2 separate regions of the Homo sapiens genome follow, and region 2 is linked to region 1. Evidence: promoter capture Hi-C in human tissues and cell types (Jung and others, 2019). All regions are on one chromosome and are shown on one strand. Each heading gives the region's core, a stretch centred on a gene start or on the middle of the fragment in contact. The rest is flanking DNA. Distances are from core to core; before and after follow the strand shown. Region 1 holds the start of ATP6V0E2 (ATPase H+ transporting V0 subunit e2). Region 2 overlaps LINC00996 (long intergenic non-protein coding RNA 996).

The links. The method cuts DNA at HindIII sites, captures the fragments that hold promoters and counts their contacts. A contact is called where the count stands out against the background at its distance.
Region 2: a fragment that was not itself captured here is called in contact with the fragment with the promoter of ATP6V0E2 in region 1 in 1 of the 25 tissues and cell types used here (mesenchymal stem cells).

What each region holds. Positions count from the first base shown.
Region 1 is chr7:149,872,501-149,875,459 of GRCh38, reverse strand. ATP6V0E2 (ATPase H+ transporting V0 subunit e2) reads right to left here and starts at 1,491. Exons shown (of 4, transcript NM_145230.4): 1 at 1,291-1,491. The coding sequence starts at 1,394. ATP6V0E2-AS1 (ATP6V0E2 antisense RNA 1) reads left to right here and starts at 1,598. Exons shown (of 4, transcript NR_027040.1): 1 at 1,598-2,236. RefSeq lists silencers at 1,055-1,234, 1,645-1,724, 1,755-1,964 and enhancers at 1,255-1,394, 724-1,692. The HindIII fragment of the contact is 13,669 bases long and covers 1-2,959 here.
Region 2 is chr7:150,443,070-150,446,028 of GRCh38, reverse strand. LINC00996 (long intergenic non-protein coding RNA 996) reads right to left here. Exons shown (of 4, transcript NR_034033.1): 2 at 2,869-2,959. Among named protein-coding and RNA genes, the nearest start is that of GIMAP8, 6.1 kb to the left of the region's middle. The HindIII fragment of the contact is 6,263 bases long and covers 1-2,959 here.

The sequences.
Region 1 (2,959 bases), core at 242-2,741:
AGTTCTACTCAGGGTAAGAATAGCAAGGCAGAAAATAAAAACTGAAAGTGTCACCTCACAGAGAGGCCAACCTTGACCACATCCAAGTTGCCTTAAGAATCCTTCCCTTCATTTCCCTTCTCTACCACCCAATATTGCTCCATCTTAATGCAGACGTGTTGTGGAAAGGCACTGCACAGAGCTGCATTTGTGGCAACCCAACAGGGAGTGGTCTGTAGAATTCAAAATTCATGGAGCAAGGGGAAGGAAAACAATAGGCTAGAAGACAGGGCAAGAAGCAGGCAGACTGTGAGCCAGTTCTGAGGCCCAGTGAGTTGTTACAAAGAGAACAGGGACTAGCCACTTTGCGTGTACTCAGAGAAGACCAGAGACAGATGCTTCAAGTGCAGCAAAAGAAATTTCAGTCAAACTGAAGCAAGAACTCACCAAGAATAGCAGGAGACGCAAGACACGAAAATGGTTTACAAAGTGAAGCTGTGGGATCCCAAACCCTGCCTGTCTTTAAGAACAAAGGCAGCACTCACATGTCCAAACGGCCTTTGGGCAAAGCTAACTCTAATCCAAACGAGGCCCTTGATCTTTGATCTAAAGCACTGCAAGCTGGTGCTGGACACAGGAGCACGCGATCCCTTTTTCAACATTACTAAGCAGGTTGTGCCAGTCCTGGCTGGGCACTGAGTAGACAATGGTGAACTGGACAAACTCCAGCCCCTGGGAACATGCAGTCAAGGGAAGGGTGCTTTGTAACTGAAGATAATATGAAGCAGAAACTGGTGAATGGCGCAGCAATCTGCTAGAGGACCTTCGAAAAATAACGCCAGCTAAACTTATCCCATACCTACAAAGTGTCACGCACTGGTAGGTGTTTTAAATGCGTTACCGCAGGTCATCCTCACAGCAGCCTTTTAAGGCAGGAGTCGACATTATCTCCATTTTACCCATGAAGAAACTGAGACTTGATATTGGCTCTAGGTCACACAGCTAGCAAGGAGTGGAGAAACTGCGTCAGTGCCCACTTGTGCCCTTTACTGGCTGCAGGAGGGGTGACAGACATCTCCAATGTCACTCTCCTCTTTACCTTCTGGATATGCCCTCTCGCCCCACCTCCTGCCTGTTCCCGGCTGTCAGAGACCCAGGTGCAGAGAGACCTCAGAGGTGGCGTCCGGGGTCCTGGCGTCCCTCCTGCGGACGCTCGCTGCAGAGCAGGAAGCCGCCGCCCCGGGGCGGAGGGGCGAGCCGGGCCAGGGGGCCGGGGTGGAGAGGTCTGCAGGGCCTGCGCGCTTTCCTTACCCGCGGTTGGGTCCCTTCGGCACGAACCAGGGCCCGGCGATGCCGACGAGGCCCCAGAACGTGGTGAAGATGATGACCGGGAGGGCGAATGAGTGCGCCGTCATGGCCGGGCGCAGGATGCCCAGGCAGGATGCAGGGCCGAGCAGCGGGCGCTGCAGGTGCGCGGGTCCCCAGCCGGGCAGCGCGCTGAGCATGCGCAACAGGAGTCGAGCACCCGAAGCGATCAGCCGGGCCGGGCCGCGCACGCGCATCTCCTGATCCAGCCCGCCGCGCTGTCACTCAGGACCTGCCTAGGAGCCCACTCGCTGATTGGCTGAGCAGGGCCGCGGACAGAGAGAAATGCCGAGGAATAGGGGCGCGGCCGCCCGGTTTCGGCGATGGGTTATAGGGTCCGCGTCAGCCCCGCGCCCGCACAGCCAACGTCACGCCGCATTCTTATTTCCAAAGACCCCTGGAGCTTGGGGTCCCACCCCAGCGGTCTTTCGGGGCGTCCCCTGCCCTTCACGCGCCGCGCCGGCTCGGCCCGAAGCGCCCTGCGGACCCGCAGCCTGGGCCGCCCCGAACCTGACGGCCCCGCGGGGGTCGGACGCGGGAGGAACGGCCTCGCTTTCAGAGACGCAGCGGGAGGGCGGTCCCCGCTGTCCCTCTGGCCGGGTCCTCAGCACGCGTTCTCCTCACTCCCAGGACTAGCGAGCGGCGGGCGCGGACCGGGGCCTGGGGTCGGAGGCGGCGCAGCCAGAAAGGCCCCAGCGGCGCTGAGACGTTTGGGGGAAGGCGGGGGCTTCGCGTTTCGATGGCGGGAAGCGGAATGAGGTTGGACCGGCCGGGCCGGCGTTCAGGGACCCGGCGGGAGGCGGAGGGCTGGCGTCCTCGCGGACATCCATCTGCAGCGAACCAGGCAGAGGCTTTGGGATTAGATCCTTGACTCCTTGCGTCAGTAGTTAAGGTTTGTTTAAATATAAAATGGGATGGCCCTTCTTACAAGGTTGCTGGAGGATTAAATGAATAGGCATGTGGAAAGCACCTAGTATAATAAGGCTCGGTAGTTTCTTCCATCAGGGCTGGAAGAGACCACGGAGCCTGCTTTCCTCCTTCGGCGTTTGGATCTCACATATCCCTTCTTCTCTGGCGATCAAAAATCCCTATCTTCTGTAGAGATCCCTTTTACAGATCAGTGGCCTCCAGGCGGTATCTCTAGCAACAAGTGCTACCCCAAGCGGCCGGCCACACATATTCCCTGGCTTCATGACATAGGGAGGCGCAGTCCCCACGTGATGCAGAAGGGAAATGTGCCTGTCCTTGCACTGACCCCGTCAGCCATGTGTGCTCCTGGCTGTTTTCTGAAATCAAGAACCAGTTACATCCGCCCTTCTCCGTTCTCTAGTTGAAACCTCCCTATCCATCCTTCCAACATTCATGTAAGTTGGAGGTGGGCGTGGGATGACACCAAACTGTTAGGTATAAAATACCATCCTAGCCTTCGAGGGGTTTCTAAAGTAGTTGAGGAGTGATATATTCTGGTAAAATCATAATGCTGGACAGCGCAGTTCTAAGAGCCCTGTGATCAAAGTAGCCAAATGCCCATTATGAGAATTCAGAGGGTGGAGAAATCCAGGAAGACTCCCTGGAGGAGGTGAGATTTTAGCTGGATTGTAAACAATGGTTATTT
Region 2 (2,959 bases), core at 296-2,795, 570 kb before region 1:
CACACCTGTAATCCCAACACTTTTGGAGGCCAAGAAGGGAAGATCCCCTGAGGCCAGGATTTCAAGACCAGCCTGGGAAACATAGAGAGACTCCATCTTTGCAAAAAAAGTTTTAAAATTAGCTGAGCTTGGTGATATGCACCTGTGGTCCCAGCTACCTGGGAGGCTGAGATGGGAGGATCACTTGAACCCAGGAGGTATAGGCTGTAGTGAGCTATGATTGCACCACTGCACTCCAGACTGGGTAACAGAGCAAGACCTTGTCTCAAAAAATGTATGTAAAAATACAAAATAAAATAAAATTTTTAAAAAGTGGGAGTTTCTGGAATGACTTGAGCTCCACTCCAAATTGTTCCTCTGTAATATTCAAGATGCATTTCCACACCATTGCACCAAACAAAAGCTTTCTGAAGGTGGGGACTATGTCTGTCTTGCTTATGACTCTATTCCAGCACCAAAACGGGGCCTGGCACACCAGGGATGGAAGAATGAGTGAGTGAGGAATGAAAAAAACACCACTCCTTTATTCCAGGGAGTGGATGGAGCAGGTGTGGCCATTGCCCTCACCCTCTCCCCTCCCCACCCACTCAGGTCTGGAGGGAAGCCTCAATCCTCATGGCTTAAGCCCCTCTTCTGATGTGGACATTCACGAGTCCTGAGCCAGCTCCTGACACTGGAGACACAGTGAGCAGAAGCAAAGTCCCCCAGTCTCTGACTCTGCCTTCCCCCGGGCCTGGCACTAGACCAGCCTGCAGGAGCTCCAGGCCCAGGCTGGCCCCACCCCAGAGCTGCATTCAGACATCCCAGGGGCACAAACCCTCCCCCAGAGCCACAGCTTCCTGGGCTCTGGCCCCATGCCCACAGCTGCCCCCCATGTGGCCTTCCCGCAGCTGTGACGGGGCCCCTGACACCTTGCCCTGGCCGCTGGGCTCCCTGGGGACTCATTCTGCAGGCAGAGAAATGGACACCTGGCTTTCCACTTCAACCTCCCAAGCTTTCTATTTCTCCTCGTAGGTCTTCTGGTCAGCCTGGTTCCCTGGTCCTATAGTGGGAAATGACACAAGGCCTGTGAGGCTGCAGCTGACTGTGGTGGAGATTGTCACACAGGGGCTTCCAGGAGCATTCCAGGTGAAGGTCAGAGACCCCGGCCAGCATGTCCTGACTGCAGGGAGCAGCACCTGTGCTCAGAAGGACTTGGTGGCCCAGGTAAAGTTCTCATTCAGCATGCAGCCCTGGCCTCCTGCAGGTCCTCAGGCATCTGGCCCCTAACCCAATAGAATGGAGACTTCAGCCAGAACTTGGGACAGCGGAAACTGTCACCCATAGTCCCCATTCATGCAGGGTAATTAATTGGCTGGCTGCAGCCAACAGAGACATTCAAGAGAGTTCCATAACCTCGAAAGGAGCGTCAGGGCCAAGAAGTCTGGGGAGCAGCAGAGCCTGAGATAAGGCAGTGTCCTAACTGCATCTGAATCCCAGCCCCGTCAATCACGCCCTGTGTGAACTTGCACAAGCTCATGAACCGTGCTGCCTCCCAGTTTTGTCATCTGTGTGATGGGGATACAACTGTTAGCTCATGGCACTGGAGGGGGACCGGAGGACCCAATGTCTGTCAAGCACTAACGCTTTGCCCAGGGTCCCCCATGTGGTGGTGGGTGCCACAGCATCAGTATCTGGGTAGGGGCCTGCGGGAAGCGGGACTGGGGAATGACAGCCGGTGCAGCCGGCTCTGGGCAGGGAGACTGAAGGGCAGAGTCAAGGCCGACTCCACACATGGGGCTGTGCCCCGTGGGGGGAGTGGGGATCTGGAGGAAGAGGCCTAAGAAAGAAGAGGCCACCTGAACCATGAGACCCCAAAGGGCCCCCCTTGCCTCTGGCCAGGGAAACAGAGCCTGTGGCTCCAGCCTTGGGGACAAAGGCCCGTTCCTTGGCTCACTTTCCGGGGCTCCCTTCTCTGAGAGCCTAACCAGGGTCCCTCTGGAGTCTAGGTTCCTGCCACAACAGCCCAAGTAGATTCCGCTCTGCCTCTGAATTCCATAGTCACTCCCCACAACCCACACAGGAAATTCTAGCCGTTTCTCAGCTGAGGCCCCTTCAGGAGCTCTGCTTTCTCCATGACAGCCTCACACCCACGGGGCACAGGTGGTGGTGTTATTGTTATCATTGTGACCCCCCGGGTGTTTTCTCTTGAACATAATTTCTACAGGGGCCAGAGAAGGGTAGACGTCATGAGACGCTGAGGGTGGCCCTGGGGTTGCTACCAGCACGGATGCCAAGGACCTAGGACAAGCCTGGGACTGGGACCAGCCAGGTCTAGATGGAGCCTGGGCCATTCTCCAGGGGAACATTGTCCCGTCCTCTGGTTGTACCCACTTGCCCCTGGAAGCAGGGGCGTCCTCTTCTCTCTCTTCCATCCCGTCTCCTGTGGACATTCCCCCACATATTCTAGCACAGGCTATGCGTTACCCTCAACCCCTTCCAACACCTTCAGGTTCCTGCCAACACCCACAGATGATCCAGTGGCGACCAGAGCAAGAGTCGGGGCTCACTGCCATAGGGATCAAGAGATCGGGGGGCTCAAGACCAGAAAGTGTTCTCCAGTGGGAGCTTCCATCACTCCTGAGAAGATGACATGGGCTGAACACAGAGATTCCAGGGCAGAGACTGATCACGCAGCCACCCTGTGTCTCCTTCAGCACCCGTGATGACGCCACACTTCAGAAAGCAAAGGGCCCTCAGCCCCTGGCTCTCCCCAGCTGCTCTCACCTCTTCGCCCCCTCGCTGGAAATGCTCCCCTCAACCCAGGGCGGAAGTGCAGGCTGATCAGGGGAGGGTCCCCGGAACTGCTGCCAAAAATACCGTCCTTACCCATCTAGGCGGACTCCTCCCAGCTTCCCTGTGCTCTCTGCGCTGAGAAAAGCTCGCAGCTGAAGCGAATGAAGCCGTGGCCGCAGCCAAA